Linked DNA regions of Homo sapiens: region 2 is linked to region 1. Evidence: promoter capture Hi-C in 16 types of primary human blood cells and fetal thymus (Javierre and others, 2016). All regions are on one chromosome and are shown on one strand. The core of a region is centred on a gene start or on the middle of the fragment in contact, and the rest is flanking DNA. Distances in the headings are between cores, read along the strand shown.

Region 1 (5,381 bases), core at 2,771-5,270:
GTAGTCCCAGCTATTTGGGAGGCTGAGGCAGGAGAATTGCTTGAACCCGGGAGGCGGAGGTTGCAGTGAGTTGAGATCATACCACTGCACTCCAGCCCGAGCGACAGAGTGAAACTCTGTTTCAACAACAACAACAACAACAAAAAAGTATAAACAGCTAAAAGAGACAGTTTTTGGTAAACCAGCACATTGATCACGCTCTGAATGGCCTTCAATGAACTGATTTAAAGAGCCTGTGAAACCCACCCAAGACTACAAAGCTAGTACGTAAAATGGTTGAAATTCAAACTCATATAGTCTGGGTCTAGAAGCTGAGTGTTTAGCCTCTAGGTGTAGAGGTGTCATCAAAGGAGGGGGAAGTAGGAAAGAAGGAAGGGTCAAAAGATGCAATGGAGAAAGGACACATTTCCAAGGGTCCCATCATAGAGTCTCTTCCTGGCTGCCTCTAGCCTCAGTTCCACAAGGTGGCAGGGCCTGCCTCCTTCTCCCCATCCAAATGCCTCTGGCTACATTCAAAGCCCAGCAGGGAGCAGTCATTGGTTTCCCCATCACACACAGTCTCAGGCTTGCCTACCAGAGGACATAATAAATATCTCCAGGTATGTAATTTTGCCCACAATAAAAACAACCTTTTTCAATATTGTGCAGGCATCTTAGTTTTTTATTGTGAATCTTCTCATTCCAGAATGCGATTTGGGATCTGCCTAGGAAAGTACATTTCCTGAAAGAAGACCAAATTTTCCTACAAAGAAGAGAAAACTCTTGGGAGATTTAAAATAACAATTTGTCCAGCCTGAACTCCCCTTTTCATGTTGGACCTGAGGAATACTGTAAACCAGGGTCAGCAAACTTTTTCTGTAAAGAATTAGATAATACATGTTTTAGGTTTTGTGGGCCCATTCAACCTGTCATGACTACTCAACTCTGCCACATAACTCTGCTATCGTATTGTGACAGAGTAAATATGTATGGGTATGCCCATGGATTCCAATGAAGCTTTATGGACACTGAAATATTAATTTCACAGGATTTTCATGTGTCAGGAAATTTTTGATTTCTTTCAACCACTTAAAAATGTAAAAACTATTCTTAGCTCTCAGGCCATACAAAAAACAACTGGCAGGCTGGGTTTGACTCCTCACAGCTTGCCAACCCCTGGTGGAAATCAACCCACTTAGAGGAAATCTGAAGGGTAGAAACAACTAAAAAATTGAAAATTCCTGTTAATGTTAGCAATGTCAAAAATCCAGGAGACCCCAGCTACTCAGGAGACCAAGGCAGGAAGATTGCTTGAGCCCAGGAGTTCCAGGCCAGCCTGGGCAACATAGAAGACCCCATCTCTAAAAAAAACAAAACAGAAAAAGAAAAATCCAGGAGCTTGTTTTGTTTTGTTTTTGTTTTGAGACAGAGTCTCGCTCTGTTGCCCAGGCTGGAGTGCAGCGGCGTGATCTCGGCTCACTGAAACCTCTGCCTCCCGGGTTCAAGCAATTATCCTGCCTCAGCCTCCTGAGTAGCTGGGATTACGGGCATGCACACCACGCCCGGCTAATTTTTGTATTTTCAGTAGAGACAGGGTTTCACCATGTTGGCCAGGCTGGTCTCCAACTCCTGACCTCAGGTGATCCGCCCACCTCGGCCTCCCAAAGTGCTGGGATTACAGGGGTGAGCCACCGCGCCCTGCCGAGGAGCTTAAGCGATCAGTTAGTCAAAGGGAGAAAAGAGGGTATCAGTAGATGACAGAAAAATTTTTTAGAGAACAAATTTTTAGACATCCGTCAACTTAGAGAAAGTAGAAAACTGTCTATAATAAACTGAAATATTTGGGACTGATCTTGATGTCTGCCAAGGTTTTGGCAGACATCAAGATCAGTCCCAAATATTTCAGTTTATTATAAACAAAGACTAATAAGTCGTCTCTACTATTGGAGGAAAAAAAAAAAAAAGACCGAAATGCAAAAATTCCTGAAAATGAGTAAATAGGGCAAAGATAAAATACTATAAATGTCTCTCTCAGTTCACAAGACCTTATCCTGGGCAGTCAACGTCCAGTTAGAAATAACGTCTGAAAATTCAGTAAGAGAAAAGGAAGTCTTCTTCTGTAATACTCAGTAAATAATGTTTAAAATTAACATAGCAATAATATTATCTGGGAATATGATAGTAAATAGCCCCTCCAAAAAACTGAAAAAGTTGAAAGCAGTTTTCCTGGAGACAGGAAGTGGTGAGGCAGATAAATTATGTTTTTCCTTATTGGTATATAACACTTTAAACTGTGTACATGTGTGACTTTAATAGAAGTGTTTAAAGATTAAATTTAAGAAAATAAAAAGTGTGAGCAAGAACTCCATTTCTATGGCAACCCGCGCGGCAGCCGCCTCTTTGTTCTGGAGCGGCGGCCACGCCCCCTCCAGTGTGAAAGGCTGCGTTTCCGGCCCGTGGGGCTCCAATCAAAATGGGACGCCTGCTGGCGGTAACGACAGGCCGGGGCCCCGCCCCCCGAAGTAGGGCGTGTGGCGTCACTTCCGGCTTCCTTCAGTCCGCTGGTCCCGAGCACGAGCTGTGAGGGGATTCACTTGTGTGCGGAACTCCTCGGAACCATGGTGAGCCTGACTCCCCTGCCTCTTGCCCTACCCCTGCTCCGCCGTGCTCTTGCCACCCCACTGCTTCCTCTGTCCTGCTAGGGTCGTAGGCTCCGTTTCTGTCTCCCCGGCCCTCCGCACATGGTGCGAGCCATGCGCGGGGCGTGCGGCCTGCGCCAGGCCAGCCGGTGGAGCTCACCACGAGGGGGAGGGGTGGACCGCAAAGCCAGCGTCTCCTTGTGCCTAGGTCTTTGCATAGTCCCGGCAGCCCAGGTCCGCGCCTCACCCGGAGCGAAGAAATTTCTAGTGTGGGACCCGCTCCGCCCTCCTTCTAGGGGCGGAGCCTGGAGCGACGGGGTCTGAGCCATCAGAGGGTGGAGGGGCCGCAGCCTTCCGAGGGTGGAAGATGGAGGCCGCGTTCCCTCGCCCGCCCGGCAGGCGTCACCTTGATGGCCTGCAACCCCTCCCTGCCTCATTCTTAGTTCAAGATCGTCTTTAGTCTCGCTGTACGTAACTGTCAATCTCGCTGGTGTATAATTTATACTCCCGGGGGCCTTGTAAATCCGAAAAGCCATGTCGCTCTCCTACAAGTCCCTCTCTCCCACTTAAATGCTTTCTCCGATGATGGAAGCTTCATTTGATTGAAAACATTGTTGTAAATGAGTTTTCTCTTAGATGTCCACTTGTAAGACTAGTGGAAGGCACCTCAGTGTATGTGTTAGAGTATTGGTACTTAAACGGAATGCCTCTTGGTTTTCCTTTTCAGGCGTCCCTTTCCCTTGCACCTGTTAACATCTTTAAGGCAGGAGCTGATGAAGAGAGAGCAGAGACAGCTCGTCTGGTAAGCCTTGTTCTAAGCATTGTTTTAAAGATAAAACTGGAGGCCAGGCGCGGTGGCTTACTCCTGTAATCCCAGTACTTTGGGAGGCCGAGGTAGGCGGATGAACTGAGGTCAGGAGTTCGAGACCAGCCTGGCCAACATGGTAAAACCCCGTTTCTACTAGAAATACAAAAATTAGCCGGGCGTGGTGATGGGCACCTGTAATCCCAGCTACTCGGGAGGCTGAGGCAGGAGGATCGCTTGAACCCAGGAGGCGGAGGTTGCAGTGAGCTGAGATCGCGCCATTGCACTCCAGCCTGGGCGACAGAGCGACACTCTGCCTCAAAAAAAAAAAAAAGTAAATAAAGATAAAACTGTACTTGAAGACTGTAAAGTTGATTCTGATAATCTCCTTGGTTTTTACTCCAGACTTCTTTTATTGGTGCCATCGCCATTGGAGACTTGGTAAAGAGCACCTTGGGACCCAAAGGCATGGTAAGAAAAATAGAAAAGTTTTATATTTTAATATTGTTTTAGAGCGCTTGGTGGAAATATAATAACAAGCGTATTAAAATGCTTTTTAATCTTTAAAACGTTTAATTATAAAAGACAAGTATGTTCTCCTTAGTAAAAATCAGAGTCCCCAGAATCACCATCCCCAATCCCATGCCCCTCCCCAATGACAAGTACTGTTATCATTTGCACGTACATCTTCTAATATTCTGTTTATGTAGAAGTATGTGTACTTCATTATGTATTTTATACTCATGTAACATACTGTTTTATAAAACAGATACTATTTATCAATACTTTTTTGTAGCTTGCTCTTTTAAATTCCTTTCAGTGTAAGTAGATAACACTGCCCCTTTAACTGTCAAATATTATCCTGTACCTTAATTATTTTATAATTTAATTATGGCTGTATTGATAGTTTCTTTCCATTGTTTTTGCAGTTACGGTGTTGAAACAAAAACTAGTGTCTACCTGTGCTTCTAGTGTTTCTAGGGGTAGATACATGGTTTGGTTACGTGGTGTATGTATTGAAAACATTTGATGAATGGATACCACAAAATAGCTATCCAGAGTGTTTATACACTAGCACTGTGTGAGAATACTGATTGATCCATGCATTCTTCAAGATGTGCTTATGTCTTAACTTGAACCAATTATGTTCCCTTTAGGACAAAATTCTTCTAAGCAGTGGACGAGATGCCTCTCTTATGGTAACCAATGATGGTGCCACTATTCTAAAAAACATTGGTGTTGACAATCCAGCAGCTAAAGTTTTAGTTGGTAAGTCTGAATATACTTTTTCACCAACCTAATAATACTGTTTGTTAACATTTTTGAAATAACTTTATAAATAGGCTGTGTTGACCAATCGTACTGTCAATTGATGTCCACTAGTTGTTAATTATCGTTGTTAAAATACAAGCTTCAGGAGTGCCCGTATGTTGGTGGTAAAACTGTTGCATTTCAGACCTCAGAGTTCCAAATAATTTGTTGAATGAGGAACCCTGGTAAGTTTAGATTGGTAGTGAATATTTTTGGAGAATTTAGTAAGCAAAGAAGCAATTTTGAGTTAATAACTAATTTCTTTTTCTAGATATGTCAAGGGTTCAAGATGATGAAGTTGGTGATGGCACTACCTCTGTTACCGTTTTAGCAGCAGAATTATTAAGGGTAAGAGCAACTAAGCAACTCTTTTTTCCTACTGTGTTTTTGAGTATCAGAGGTAATCTAGTCCTTACTTCCTCTGTCTTTACTATTGAGGAGTGCTTAATAATTTTCTATTTATAACTTTTGTTTTATAACTTTATTAATAGGAAGCAGAATCTTTAATTGCAAAAAAGATTCATCCACAGACCATCATAGCGGGTTGGAGAGAAGCCACGAAGGCTGCAAGAGAGGCGCTGTTGAGTTCTGCAGTTGATCATGGGTTTGTATAGCAAAGTACTACTGTTCTAAACATTTAGTGTTCT
Region 2 (5,337 bases), core at 1,153-3,652, 5.1 Mb before region 1:
TACTTTAATAAAAAATGTTTTCAGAAATAGATAAGTGAAAGCTGAGTGTTTCTTTGATAGGTTCCCCTGTACTATAGGAGTGATAATTGCAGCTATTGCAATAGTAGTAATTGTTAAATGGATACTAATGAATAGCATAGCATAGTGGGTAAGAGTTTATATAGCACAGGCTCTAGAATCAGATTAAGTAGGTTCAAATACCAGTTCTGCCAGTAACTGGTTTTAGAACCTTGGGCAAGTTAAAGAATGTCTCCCAGCCTCAGTTTCCCTATTTGTAAAATGGAAATAATGGTAGCTACCTCAAACCTCATTACGAATTCAATGAGTTAAACTTGAAAAGACTTATTACAGTAGCTGGCACATAAAGACTTGATAGTAGTTTATATGGATGCTATCTCATATTAGCATATATGGAATTAATAGTGTATCACTATACTTTTTTTTTCTTTTTTTTTTTTGAATAGAGATCAGTCTATCACCCAGGCTGGAGTGCAGTGGTGACATCATAGCTCACTGTAACTTCTCCCATACTCTACCAATCCTCCTGCCTCAGCATCCAGACTAGCTGTGATTACAGGTGTGCACCACCACACCCAGCTACATTTTTTTTTGGTAGAGACAGGGTCTCACTATGTTACCCAGTCTGGTCTCAAACTCCCGGCCTCAAGCAATCCTCCCACTGGCCTCACAATGTTGGGATTACAGGTATAAGCCACTGCACACGGCCTTACTATGCTATCAATTCCATATATGGAAAGGTGTTTTCCCTTTCAGAGCTCTTTAAAGCTCTGCAGAAGATTTACATGTGTTTATAGAGCTAAGAGAAATCAGGGCATGGAAATTGAGTGTGTAATAAAAATTAAACTCTTCATGTTATATAATCATGCATAACTTCTATCTTCATTCTCTGAAGTTGCCTAGAGCACCATCACAGCTAGGAAGCTTCCATCATGAATTACCTTATTTCCAAAAGCAAGTACTCAAATAATTGTCTCAAGAGAGGAAGGACAAAACTGTTACAAGCTGAAATATTTGGGGATTTGTTTGACTTGACTAGGGAACCACAAGTTTTCATATAATGCCTGATTTAGCCCTGTGCCTAACAGTTTAAATCTTAATGCTAATGTTAATTGCTTCCCAGTTGGTTGACCTTATAAGAAAACACTGTGTGGTATTTTAATGTGGTAAACATGTGAATGAAGGCCTGTGGCTCAGTTAATCACTCCCACAACTTTGAGCTGTGAGTTTTACTGGTGGAAGGAACTTTAACAGGTCTTCGCTCTTGTCATTAGATATCAAAGAACTGAAATTAGTTGGAATTGTAAGCAGTGAATAGATGTGTTGTTAGAATGATTCCATCACTTATACATTGTTTAAAATGCTAATAAAGTAACTTGCTTTGTAAGAATTCATTAGAGTGGACTTTTGTTATCTCCATTGTGCATTTGATAAAACTGAGGCTTAGAGAGGTAAGAGATTAGCTTTTAAGTCAGTAATTGGCAGCCGAGACAGCAACCCTAGGTCTGTTACATTCAAAAGCCTCTGAGCCACTCCGCATGACTTCCCATTCATTCGTGTTTGCTGCTGCTACTCTGGGAAACACCATCTTCCTCTTCCCCTCCACTCAGAAATTTAGCCCTAGATTAGCAGCGGTCTCTGCTCCCTCATGTTGAGAAAGGCCTGTTGTGCTGTCCGTGGGCAGAAGGGACCCCTTCAGAAAGCTATTCCTTATTGGGAATAGCGGCTTGAGATTTTGACTGCACGAATATTGCAGGACCTAATTTTAGTATTTAAGTTTTAGTTCTTAAATTCTTAAGTTTAGAGTTAGATACTCCAATACGGCCGTTTTCCAAAATACCGAGAGGGAATTAAATGAACATTTTTACATTAAGAATTTAATGTATTTCTGGGTGATGGGAAAATGAAAAAAACAATGTAAAGTCTGAATTACTGCGAGACGATAATCTGGCTCCACTGCAGCCAAAGTGGGCCCTTAAAACATAGAATCCATCCCTCCCAGCTCTGCCGGCCGTCTGTGCCTGCCCCCCACGTGTCCCACGTTCTGCACACCTGTAAATCTTGGGATGTAATCCCTTGCTCAGCGTCGGTCCGCCCTACTGTCGGCCAGCGCTCGGGGAAGGGGCGGGATTTGCAGTTGCGGGAATCCCAATTACTGTGTTCGCTGCTCAGGGCTCCTCATTCCCCTTTAGAGTAAAGGGCGAGGGCAACAGTGGACGGGGTGTCTCCAGACATCCCCCTCATTACCGTGGCCGCGGAAGCCGACTCGGCAGTTGCCGCCGCGGCTGTGGTGACTACCAGACGGGCCATAGGCGTGCGCACGCGCACCCGCACCGGCGCGCCGGCCGTCGGTCACGTGGCCTCCGGCCAGGGCTTGCGAAGCCGGAAGTGTCCTGAGTCTCGAGGAGGCCGCGGGAGCCCGCCGGCGGTGGCGCGGCGGAGACCCGGCTGGGTAAGTGAGACGGCCGCGGGCTGAGGGGCCAAGGCGGCGCGGGGCGCGGTCGGTCAGGCCTGCGCCGCCCGGCGGGGAGCGCTCCCGCCCCCTGTGGGAGGCTGGGATGCTGAGTCAGAGCGGGGGCGGGGGCGGGCGCACCGAGAAGCCCCGGACGACCCGAGGCCAAGCCATCCAGGACCCCGGCTGCGTGGACACTGCCTCTGGGGTGTGTGTCGGGTGGCCGTAGCCGGTGGAATGGTCGCGCGGGCCCTGTTACCTGCATCCCCGCTCCGCGCCGCGCGGCCGGTCCTCGACCTGCATCCCGTCCGGCGGCTTTGGGCATAAAGAGGACGACTCCGTTACCGGGCCTGGGCCCTGGCTGCCTGGGGAGGCAGGGGCACCTCTTTCCCTTAGACTCGCTGTTTTCTACCCTCTTTCCGAGCGTCGACACAACGGGCAGTTTTTAAATGTATTGATTTTTCAGAGGATTAAAAAGAGACGTTTCCTTAGAGTTTTAGTGATGTTCAGTCCGCAGAGGTTGACTCACACCGGAAATTAGAAGCATAAGATGTTTTAAATATATGCCGATGAAATACGAATTCCCAGACATTTCCTTGCTCCTCGTCTACCTGGCTTATGGGTTTAATTTGTAATCTCTATCCCAAGTATTCTTAGTAGGTGGCCTCAAAACAACTCCCAAGTAATTGCCAAATGTATAACCAAAGACTGGTCTTTTCCACTCTGAAACCCCAGTGTATGAATCACATAGGGGCAGAGTTTAGAAATCCTGGAACTTTGTCCATAGGCCATGTCGTCAAACCTGTTTTCATCCCTCAACAAATAGTAACTTTCGTTTTGGACGGTGTAAGGAAGTAGGCTGAAGACGGCATCATCAGCAACATAGTTGTTGAGTGTCTGCTTATATGCTTGTCAAAAATTTGGGAAGATTTATATGGCAAGCACGTTGTGGGTGTGCTGAGTCATGTTTTAACATGTTATTGTGGAGTTATTGGAAGATAATTTCAAAAGACATTTCCCCTGACCACTATTGTGATTACTGTTAAATAGAAACCATAGTTTTGTATTTGCATAGAGAACAGATATCTTAGCTGATAAATATTTTTCTTATTATCCTGAAGGTACATACATATAGGTACCTAATGGTACTATTTGCCATTTACAGTTACATTGATTAGGGAAGGTTTTTCGTTAGATAGTTGAGACGTTTGTTATTGTATCGTGAGTGAAATGTAATGACTGGCAAATGTGTATTCCTTATTTGTGAAAAGGGAATCTTATTTTTATTGCTTATTTCCTATAGTCGTATATAAAGTTTATCTAAATTAGATGGGTAGTAAAATTATATAAAAATATCCTACTATATCAGTGATTGGTAAAATTGAGACCCCTGACCATTCTGCATTTTCCTAACCCAGCTTGGGGATATTGGTGGTCATTAATTCATCACAGAATACCTAGTCTAGCATACTACTTTTTGCTTTAACTTACTGTGGAGGGATATTAAAATCCATGTTTTAATGACAATACAGCAGGTTTAAGGGGGCATGGTGGGACTAGTGTTTATGTTATGTTAGCATACATCAATTTTAGTCCAGTGTGGAGCTTGGATACTTTGTATACCTTGATAGATCCATAGCTTTTCAGTATTAAAGACTTGATAATACAGGCTACTTGGTACGTTTATATATTTATACTTGGAGGTTGGAGAAACTATCCTTAAATTAATTCCAGAAGAGTTCGTAACTTTTCAGGAATAATAATTTTTGCACCTTTCCTTTATGTTTGTCAGGTTCTGTGTAGATTGTGTAGATAAAATTTTAGCTTATGGGAATATTATGCAGTGACAACATTTGTCTTCATTAGTGTTTCTCTGCTCTGAAGGAAACAAAGTAATTTTTCCTATATTTGTTATATTTTACATTATTACTTTTCTTTATTTTAAAACACCTTAAATTATGTCATAAATTAATCTTTCAAAACATTTGAAGGAGGTAAGTAACAATATCACTCTCATCAACAAAGACAAAATTAGAAGAGAAATAGGTGTTGTTTTTGTTTGTTTTTGTTTCTTTTTGAGATGGAGTCTCGCTCTGTCACCCTGGCTGGAGTGCAGTGGTGCGATCTCAGCTCACTGCAACCTCTGCCTCCTGGTTTCAAGCAATTCTTCTGCCTCAGCCTCCCGAGTAGCTGGGATTACAGGCATGCGCCACCACGCCTGGCTAATTTTTTTGTATTTTTAGTAGAGGCGGGGTTTCTCCATATTGGCCAGGCTGGTCTCGAACTCCTGACCTTGTGATCCGCCCGCCTCGGCCTCCCAGAGTGCTGGGATTACAGGCATGGGCCACTGCACCCGGCTGAGAAATAGATGTTTCTTTCAGCCCTGTGTTAAGTGAATTAAATTGAATGTATGTCATTGGTTAATGTTTTTTTTTTCAAAGCTCATACAGCATTTTAGCCTTGAATATTGCTAGAAACTCAGATCTTTTTTTTTTTTTTTTTTTTTTGAGACGGAGTCTCGCTGTGTCACCCAGCCTGGAGTGCAGTGGCGCGATCTCGGCTCACTGCAAGCTCCGCCTCCCGGGTTCCCGCCATTCTCCTGCGTCAGCCTCCCGAGTAGCTGGGTCTACAGGCGCCCGCCACCATGCCCGGCTAATTTTTTTGTATTTTTAGTAGAGACGGGGTTTCACCATGTTATCCAGGATGGTCTCAATCTCCTGACCTCGTGATCCGCCCGCCTCGGCCTCCCAAAGTGCTGGGATTACAGGCGTGAGCCACCGCGCCCGGCCAATTTTTTTTTTTTCTTTTTTTTTTTTTTGCGATGGAGTCTTGCTCTGTCACCCAGGCTGGAATAGGGTGGCACGATT

Evidence for each region. The method cuts DNA at HindIII sites, captures the fragments that hold promoters and counts their contacts. A CHiCAGO score of 5 or more calls a contact.
Region 2: a contact is called between the fragment with the promoter of TBK1 here and a fragment that was not itself captured in region 1, in 1 of 17 cell types (total CD4 T cells). The highest score is 8.2, in total CD4 T cells.

The regions. Positions count from the first base shown.
Region 1 is chr12:69,582,925-69,588,305 of GRCh38, forward strand. It overlaps CCT2 (chaperonin containing TCP1 subunit 2), which reads left to right and starts at 2,535. Exons shown (of 16, transcript NM_006431.3): 1 at 2,535-2,600; 2 at 3,346-3,420; 3 at 3,829-3,894; 4 at 4,581-4,692; 5 at 5,006-5,082; 6 at 5,226-5,338. The coding sequence starts at 2,598. MIR3913-1 (microRNA 3913-1) reads right to left here and starts at 1,899; the gene lies at 1,798-1,899. It overlaps MIR3913-2 (microRNA 3913-2), which reads left to right and starts at 1,799; the gene lies at 1,799-1,898. RefSeq lists an enhancer at 2,566-2,905. The HindIII fragment of the contact is 1,624 bases long and covers 3,209-4,832 here.
Region 2 is chr12:64,449,718-64,455,054 of GRCh38, forward strand. TBK1 (TANK binding kinase 1) reads left to right here and starts at 2,403. Exons shown (of 21, transcript NM_013254.4): 1 at 2,403-2,470. XPOT (exportin for tRNA) reads left to right here. Exons shown (of 25, transcript NM_007235.6): 25 at 1-1,408. RefSeq lists a silencer at 2,274-2,743. The HindIII fragment of the contact is 9,573 bases long and covers 941-5,337 here.